Regions from separate parts of the Homo sapiens genome. Here region 2 is linked to region 1. Evidence: promoter capture Hi-C in 16 types of primary human blood cells and fetal thymus (Javierre and others, 2016). All regions are on one chromosome and are shown on one strand. Each heading gives the region's core, a stretch centred on a gene start or on the middle of the fragment in contact. The rest is flanking DNA. Distances are from core to core; before and after follow the strand shown.

The links. The method cuts DNA at HindIII sites, captures the fragments that hold promoters and counts their contacts. A CHiCAGO score of 5 or more calls a contact.
Region 2: a fragment that was not itself captured here is called in contact with the fragment with the promoter of PLCH1 in region 1 in 1 of 17 cell types (M2 macrophages); the score reaches 5.4 in M2 macrophages.

Annotation. Positions count from the first base shown.
Region 1 is chr3:155,743,467-155,747,991 of GRCh38, reverse strand. PLCH1 (phospholipase C eta 1) reads left to right here and starts at 2,921. Exons shown (of 23, transcript NM_014996.4): 1 at 2,921-3,152. RefSeq lists enhancers at 2,959-3,168, 3,063-3,684. The HindIII fragment of the contact is 4,475 bases long and covers 2,099-4,525 here.
Region 2 is chr3:154,757,648-154,762,786 of GRCh38, reverse strand. No RefSeq gene overlaps it. Among named protein-coding and RNA genes, the nearest start is that of MME, 320 kb to the left of the region's middle. The HindIII fragment of the contact is 2,585 bases long and covers 2,060-4,644 here.

The DNA of each region.
Region 1 (4,525 bases), core at 1,672-4,171:
TGTGCCAGTATAATTAATGAGAGTCATCGCTTAGGAAATGAAGAGGGTGGGGGTTGGGAAGGATGCCTTTCACCATTCAATGGCATTTAAGAAAAATTGATGCTTTCTTAGCACTTTTAATGCTGGGAGGACATTAAGTCAAAGAATCACAGCAAAAGATTTTTGTAACTACTGTACAGATGGATGTCCCTGTGCTTGAAGAGGCAGGGCTAATTCAACCCCAGACTTTTCAGCCAGGCGGATTTCAACCTTGTATTGAGCTACCAGCAGGAGTTCTTTATACTTGGAAAAGTGGTAAATCCTTACTAAAAGATCATAGCTTGCATGACCAAGAGATCCTCTAGAAAAGGTACTTTACTACCATGTAGGATGTTTGTCTTACCTGCCCAAAGAAGTTTTAATGAAGATCTCATTTTCTCCAGTTCCCCTTTAACCAGTGAAAGAGGAGGGTATTATTTGTTTTGTTTTTCTATTTATTCTTTGGTAACCATGGAAGAGTTTGTGTAACCTAGAGAGGCTGCTTATTACCCACTGTCTAATCCCTTTGTTATTATTCCATACTCTGATTGTCACAAGCAGGAAAAATAGTTCTGTCCTGCTTCTAAAAACTTAGCAATGTAACACATTTTCTTGTTTTTAGTGATTTTCTCCAATTAATTAATTAATTGTTTTAGTGATTTTTCTCAGATAAATAATGTTAAAACGACTTGGAGAGAAAAGCTACATTAAAAGATTATGGATGTATAAATGTCCTAAACATTTAAGAACATGCATAATTATGATTCATACCAACTTCAGAATTATTACCTTTGGGAAGGGGTGGGGGTAACGAGTCAGGAGTTGGGGTTTAGCTATATCTGTAATGCTTTATTTAAAAAAGAAGGGCTGGGGGGAGCAGGAGTATTACATGGTATATATCCTGTTTTTGGTAGGTTTGAAATATCACACAATTTAAAAATTTAAAAGTTTACAAAATTATGGGAGTTGATTAAAACTATCAAAATAAAGAATGCATAGCAAACAAGTGCTCTTATTATGAACTTTGTGTCTGAGTTTATTTCAACATGTGCATCTGCATTTTTTCAGACTCAAGAAAGACAAACACCGGAGGTTAGGGGGTGAACTGCTGCTGTTGAGGGATTATCTTGGTGGTTTTTTTTTTTTTTTTTTTTTTTTTGGCTTTTCTATTCACCATGGAGGTTACCAGCAAAACAAATCTCCAACAAGCTTGTTTACAAAATATAAAGCAGTTTGGAGGCAGAGGGTTAATGACTTAATTTCTTATAAATTGAGGCTTGTGTATGGGCATGCAAAAAAACAAAAACAAAAACAAGTAAATTTGGGGAGGTTTCTTTCTATAGAGGCAAAGGACCTTACCTACATTTTTTCCAAATTGATTTCTTCCTGGTACTATTGGCAGGAAGAAATTCAAGTGGGTATTCTGGTGGCTTTTTTCTTTTTTCTGAGAGTCTAGGATTGTTTTCAGGACAAAGTTTCTTCTTGCCCATGGTGCTTTGCTGTGACATTGTAATTGCCTCTGTTGAATTGAATAATACAAATGGGTTGTTTCTATGGTATCGGCTAAGTGGGATGAAAAGGTGAAACCCTAGATCTTGCGCTGAGAGGTCACAGTGCTACCACCCTCCACACTGTCTGTCAAAGAGAACAGGCAGCCAAGGCCCTGAGCTCCAATCTCAGGCACTCATTTGTAACTTACTCGTTTGTAACTTCCTGGGCAAATTCACGCATGAAAAAAGAAAATGACTTTAGTTTATGTTGTCACTAAGCCCAGAAAATCCCTGCCAACCCCATGCTGCCAGCTTTCCTAGGACATTCTTATTGGAGGATTATTTTAAACTGAAAGGTGAGTGAAGAGCTGCGTCCCCACTCCTTCCCAGCCAGGCTTTGAACTAACAATAGGGCAGGTTGAATGAAGGCTGATAAATGTAAATCCTGGAATCCAGAAGCCGGATCACACCGCGGCCGTCTAGGCCAGCGGCGGTTCCAGCATCCGCCCCAAGCTGGTCACTCATCCTTTCAGTGCATTCAGTAGATTTCATCGTTTCATCAACACTTGAGTGCCTGCTTCGTGCAAGCTTTCCTCTGCCACCGCCGCCTTCTTACTCCCGGCAGGTTGCCCGCTTGAGTCAACCAGCCACTAAACGGATCTAAGTGAATAAGTGGCCTGTTAATGCCAAGGAGTAGCATTTCCAAATGAAGAGACTGGGGGTAAATAAAAGCAAAGTGTTACCATTTACACGCTCTCAATTTTAGTTGCACTTCACTCAGAGTAGATCTCTTTAATTTGCGGCATCGACAGATGCTATATTCTTAGAAATTTTTTTTTTTTAAAGGAGGTAAGACGGGCGTTTGAGAACACTTTTTACTTTGGTGCAAGTTGCACGCAGTTCCCATTCACTCAGAGTAGATCTCTTTAATTTGCGGCATCGACAGATGCTATATTCTTAGAAATTTTTTTTTTTTAAAGGAGGTAAGACGGACGTTTGAGAACACTTTTCACTTTGGTGCAAGTTGCACGCAGTTCCCATTCCCTGCGCCCTTCACTTCCAACTTTGTTTCTCCAACTCCTTTACCCCCCACCACCGAGGCCCTCTGGCTACAGCCCCGAGGGGTTACCCTGGGTTTCGAAACTTTTGAAACTTGCGGGGGAGTAAAAGTACTTCATTCCCAGTGCTTCTGGCCCTTGCCAAGCGGGGAGCCCCGCAGGAGAGTGTAAGCCAAGGGTTCCAGGTGCAGCCTTGGGGTTCCACGTGCAGCCCTAGGGTTCCGTACACCCATCCCGCCCGGGCCAGAGGAGGCAGCAGGCGCTCCAGTCCGCTCTCCGCAACTCCAGTTCCTGATTTCCTCGGAAGCTGCGGGGCCGAGAGGGAGGGGGGCTCCTGTGTGAGCGTGAGGATTTGAATGAGAAAGCAGGTTGTGGCGGCGGCGCCCTGCTCTTCCCCGCTCGTCTGGGGCTTCTGCTGGCTAGTGGGGAGAAGTGCTCTTCTAGGGGGGCTTTTCTGGCCCTTGGCAGGGGTTTGGAGTTGGAGTCACAGGGGCCAATAACTCATCACCCCAGCACTTCGGAGGTGGCTCCTTGTGCCACGGACTCCGAGGAGTCCTTCAGCTACTGAACACTCAAAGCTGAGGAGGTCAGTGCTTTCGGGGGAAGAAGGGGCCCAGGAGAGAAGGGGGTGTGCAGGAAAAAGAGAACTGGTACGCCAGTCCGATGAGCGAGTGAGCAGGTGGCCCAAGTTCCTTTCTCGGCAGCCACAGCCGGCACACGCCTGTTTAGGACTGTGAGTGCTGTGCGTGGGGATCCCCTAAGGCCCCGTGCGGGGAACTGGCCACGGCCGCTCTTCAGGGTCCCATAATTCAGAAGGATGAGGGTGGGTGTGTGTGTCCGCGAAATAATGTAACTCTCGGGTCCCTTGCGGTGGTGGTGGGTGGCGTTTCGCCCGGTGGAAGGTCCAGCCTCGCTGCAGGATGCTTCACCCTCACGCGGGGTCCCGGGACCCTCTCTCTGACCGCCAGACGCCGCCAGGAGAGCAGGTCCGCGTTTCCCAGCAAGGGGAGTGCAGCGTCCGTTACACTTGGGGAGTCTCACAGCTTTTCCTGCGCCCGGTGACCCTGCTCAGGACCTCTTAGAGACTAGGTGTGCTCAGCGCGAGGAGGATATACTCCATTGCCCTTTCCTGGGAAGAACCAAGAGCGCCCGAGCGGCGCGGGGTGGTGGAGGCAAACCCCGGCCCCGCGGCGGCACGCTCTGCGCCTGCGCGGCGTTTCCTTGGCGACTGAGCTGCGGGTCCGAGACGCCACCCCGCGAGCCCCTAAACCCAGTTCCCTGTTGAGCGTCTGCGACGCCCTCTCCCCTCCTTCCCGAGGCTTTTTCTATTTGTTTCCTTCTGCGAATCAATTTGTGATCACATTTTGACGTTGAGAGTTCAGCATTAAAGCAATAACCAACTAAATTAAAAAAAAAAACCCAACTTTTCCCTTCCCTTGTTACCGTTTTGATCACGGACAGAAGAAAATGGTGAGAGATTAGTTATTAGGGCAGCAATTGAAATCCCCCTCTGTCCCGAAAAGGGGAGACGAATAAAACATTTACTTCCTGGTAAGGAGTTAGAAAATTCAGTGAAGTGATTGTTCTCGAGCGTTACAAGAACAAATCTGTGCCTCCTAACCCAGGTGAAGAGCAGAGCTTGTACAACCCAGCAGCACCCATGTCCTGTTTATTGGCATGTTTATGACAAGGAGATGCTCTGCAAAAGGGACCAGAGTATAATGCCAATGAAAAGAAACAAAGGATTTCCCAGAAGAGGCGGTAGTTTTTTTCAGTTGCCTCAGCGTTTTGGTCACCTTTGGGGTTAAAGTCTTCTGCAGAGAATGCTTCAAGAAGCCTTAACAGAAGCCAGTTTTCTCAAGCTGGTCATTTTCTTTTTCTTTTTTTCTTTTTTGAGACGGAGTCTGGCTCTGTCGCCCAGGCTGGAGTGCAGTGGTGCGATCTCGGCTCACTGCAACC
Region 2 (5,139 bases), core at 2,103-4,602, 990 kb after region 1:
ATTTCTCTAGGTATTGTGGCAAACAAGTGAGGAAACAGGATTTGAAACTACATTTATTGGTGATGATTTTACCAATGGAATTTCCACTACTACGTAATGCATTTGGTAGTCATAGAAAAGAAACCCATTCTCCTCATTTGTGATAACTTGGATGAGGAAGAATGAGGACTAGGAGACATAAAGAACCTAATGGACTGAAATGCTGACATGACTTGCTTTTTTTTTTTTTTTTTTTTTTTTTTGAGACAGTCTCGCCCTGTCACCCAGCCTGGAATGCAGTGGTGTGATTACGGCTCACTGCAACCTCCACCTCCAGGGTTCAAATGATTCTCCTGCCTCAGCCTCCCCAGTAGCTGGGATTACAGGCACACGCCACCACACCCCGCTAATTTTTGTATCTTTAGTAGAGAAGGGGTTTCACCACATTGGTCAGGCTGGTCTTGAACTCCTGACCTTGTGATCCACCCACCTTGGCCTCCCAAAATGGTGGGATTACAGGCATGAGCCACTGCGCCCAGCCACTGACATGACTTCTATTCCAGGTAATGAGGTACTCCAAGTGAGACAGAATTGTATAGTAAAGGTTTTATAACCTGTGATCTGAATCGGGGCTAGATGAAAACTTGAGGGTACTCAGGAAGGATTCTAAGCTGGTCATGTTGGGTAGGTTAATAATTGGTGCCCCTTCAAATATTTGTTCTTTTAGTATTTGGTCAATAATTTCAGGGTCTTGCAGCTTAACTGCTCTGTAGAGAAGGGACAAAGAAGCCCTATATATTAGGTGATAGGGATCAATCTCTCCTCTCTTGTCCAGAACAATTGAATTTGCCGCAAATTTAGATACTCTTTTTACCAAAAGAAAAGCACTAAAATTAGCCGGAGCAATTCGATTTGAGTTTGTCTGAGGGGTGTGTGTGTGTGTCTGTGTGTGTGTATGTGTGTATGTGTGTTTGTGTGTGTGTGTGTGACTGCACATGCAGTAGGAGGGAAGGAGTGGGTGAACTTCTCTCTATCTCATTTTAAATTACTCTCTAGGAGAGCAGTTTGGGTAAATAAATTTTATTTTAATACGGCATTAGTAATTCACCACCTCTCATAGATTAGTGCTCCAACAATTCCTTGTTTTAAATTAAAGTTTGATTCAAACCAGATAACGGGGAGATTTTGAAGTTTTGAGAGCAAAGTGCGGTGGAAGATGCATATAAAATGATTTTAAAAGTACAACATTGGGGCCAGGCATGGTGGCTCACGCCTGTAATCCTAGCACTTTGGGCGGCTGAGGTGGGTGGATTGCCTGAGCTCACGAGTTCAAGACCAGCCTGGGCAACACGGTGAAACCCCATCTCTACTGAAATACAAAAAATAGCTGGGCATGGCAGCGGGTGCCTATAGTCCCAGCTACTTGGGAGGCTGAGGCAGGAGAATTGCTAGAACCTGGGAGGCGGAGGTTGCAGTGAGCTGAGATCATGCCACTGCACTCCAGCCTGGGCAACAGAGCAAGACTCCATCTCTAAAAAAAAAAAAAAAGGACAACATTGGGCAGGGTGGGGTGGTGGAATAGAGAGGAAATGGAAGCTAAGAGACCACACACACAGAACTGATTAGGGCCAATGATTAGCAGGATTTAAATGGAAACAAAAGAAAACAAAACAACCCCTCTGAATTTTAGACCTATTTCTTCCTCTTACAAGCAATGTGATTTTAGGCAAATCTCTTAACATAGTTTCATCGTCTAAACCCTGGGGATTAATATTTAGTGTTTTTGACACACACACACACACACACACACACACATATACACTCACCATTTATCTTGCAGCAAGGAATAGGTACTTTACAAATATTACCTCATTTATTCCTCATAATAACCCTATGGAATAGGTACTACTATTATTTCATTTTGCATATGAGGAAACTGAGGTACAAAAAGTCAGTTCATACAGCTAATAAGTGGCAGAACTGAAATTGGAATCTTGGCAGCCTGTTTCTAGAATCTGTATTAACCATTGGCTGTAACAGCCAATCTACAGAATTGCTGTGAAGATTAAGTGGAGAAGCTTACATTTTCCAGAAGATAATTTTTTTGTTTTTTTTTAATTGCTTTCAACATATTAAGTTTTTGTGGACCCTTTGAGACTCTGGTAAAATCATGAACATTATATACCAGCAATATCCACACATATACATAACATAAAAATTTACATAGCATTTCTAAGATTTCAAAGACCTCCAAAACTCCATTCAGGGACAACAAGTTAAAAAAAAGCCTGAATTTAACTTGGTTGGGTCTCCTTAACCTCACTGTCTCCCAACTAGAAGGTGAAAATAGTGATCAACTTCCCAGCTTCCAGTTCTAAGGGCTGAGAGGCCTACACATAATTTGAGGATAGGTTCCATACCACTTCAAACTGCTTAACAACGTGTTATTCAGAAGTCCTGGTTTGAGTTTGCTTTATAAGTATAAATTTAGAGCTAAAAATGGAGTGGAGAGAGAAACAGTTTGGTCAAAGTCTTTGGTCTTTGTAAAATGCAAAATATTTGGAAAATAGTCTGGAGGGGTTGGTGGCATTTAGCCATTCTAAGTGCCAAGAATCACATCTTGTCAGCTCTTGCTGATTCGCCGTTGACCTCAATGACCTCTATGTCCCTTCTTCATTAGAGCACACTGGGAGAGTGAAAGGATGGCGCCATTTGGGACCACACTAGGAAAAACAAATTCTACAAGTTGTACATTTCATCATTTTTTTTCTTCCACTTAAAAATCTTGACAAAGGTTTATCAAGTTGCTTGAAACCCCATTATGATTCAAATCAACAAGTTCTACAGAGAAAACCCACTGAACAATTTACTGTGGCTTGTAATATCTGTTCATATTCTTCTTAGCAGACACAACAACAAACCTCATTGTTTACCACTGGTTACTGAGACCAGAATAGGTAAGAAACAAAAGCCATCGTCAGATTTGTTTTGTTTTCCAGTTGGTTCTTTCTTTGAAAGAAAAACAACTGTCTTTTAAATCAAATCCTTACCCTTTTTTCTACTTCATTATTGGTAGGTCCAATTATAATTAATGAGCAACTAATGAACATTCGTTAACTTAGACAGTAATATTTTTATTTTTCTTTGGTTGATTCAAGAACAGCTACACAGATATTTACTCAAGATTATGAATTTAAAAACTTGACTAAAGGTGAAAAGTTATGACATAAAAGAAATGCCAAACATCTTTTCGTTTAGTAGCATAAAAATGCTATCAAGCAAGGGCATAATCTGAATTTTTTAAAAATTGATGTAGATCATTGAATTTGGCAAGAAGAATTTGTGTGTGTGTGGTGGGCAGAGGTTTAAATGGGTCAATGAGTTAACAAAGGCCGGTTCCTCACTGTCTGAAATAATTTACCGATTAAAACTCCATTCACCTGGTCAAACATGTTCTATCAATTTCAATCCTGTTTTGAAATTAGAGGTTTGCTCAACTTGAAAGGAGATTTATAAATAATTTATAAGCATTGATATCCATGCATCAGAGAAAGCGTAGAGAGATGAATTAGCCCTATTTTAAAACTTAGTAGTTAGAGTTCCAAATAAAAAGTCTCAAGGAAACACAGTGAATTTAGTAAGTTCCCAGTTAGCCAAAGCTATTGGCTATTGGCTGAATATCTGGTTCTTACGTAAGTTTACTCTGCATGTGACCTACGTACATTTATGTAAATTTACTTACATAAATTTGAGACAGTTATCAATACAATAGTACTTACATGTAAGAAAGTATTTAAGTTAAAGCAAATACTTAATGGTTCTTTTCATTTTAGCACTCACTGAAAATCAGGCATTTCAAAGTAACACCAGAATGTTTATATCTTTTATATTAAATAGATAGACAATTTAGCCAAAATCTTATTCTGTACTCTGCAACTCTGCTTAGCATATTGTTCAAACTATACAATGACAAAATTCCATTTTAAAGAAAATTAAAGTAGGATAAATTTAAAGAAAATTAAAGTAGGATAAATTTAAAGAACAATGAAAAGACTACAGACATCAATACTACTATATGAAAATTAAGTGATACCCCCATAGAATGTTTATTCCACTATCACATTTAGAGTATCAAAAATTCTCTTGGGAACAGAGATTACAGTATTTTGAAGCAAACTTTCAGTTTATAATTCCTTGACAAGTACAATTTATTAGCAGAAAAAATATTTTGAAAAGGATTTTGTTCTTTTTCTTAACATGAACCACAAAGTGCTTTTCTGTCTTTTTCTAGATACAGGCCTACATACATTAATTTTATGTAAAACCAGCTCCCTCTAGTGATAACAATAATGTTTCCAGCAAGAAACGAACCGGCTTTCTAGATTATTTATATAAAACCCTTTGAAATTGAATCTCAAAATAAACACTTGAGAAGATCGACTTTTATTATAGAGGATAAAAATTCTAATAACCTTCCAAGTCATTTGTTAATAGTCTTTCTTAGTTTAATGCTCTTTTAAACATGTCAATACGGGGAGTGACCCTGGTGTTCAACTTGTTCTCTTTGCTCACTGGGAAAGCCAGGCCCAGAAATATAAATGCACTCTGGTATGTTCAATAAAAATCAGTTTACGTTTTTTTTTTTTTAAATCCAATAAAGAAGCTTATGATTCAATAGAAAGATATGATTTTTAAATGCTAATTTCTGTACACAGACATAAATATCACTATTTAAATCAGCACTTTAAATATCCAGTTGCTTTCTTTGATATCACTGAGGATGAAAACTGAATTGTGTAACTTTAGCAATGTAAAACATCAGACAGCTGTTGAAGAATGAACTCCTCACTGGAACTCCTGAAGTTTGGCTATGGTTGGTATGATGTAGAACAGTAGTTTTTAATTTTTGCTGGAAAACACTAGTTAGCAAATTTTTTTGTTTTGTTTTGTTTTGTTTTGAGACGGAGTCTTGCTCTGTCGCCCAGGCTGGAGTGCAGTGGCGCAATCTCGGCTTACTGCAAGCTCCGCCTCCCGGGTTCACGTCATTCTCCTGCCTCAGCCTCCTGAGTAGCTGGGACTACAGGCGTCTGCCACTAGGCCGGCTAATTTTTTTGTATTTTTAGTAGAGACGGGTTTTCACCGCGTTAGCCAGGATGGTCT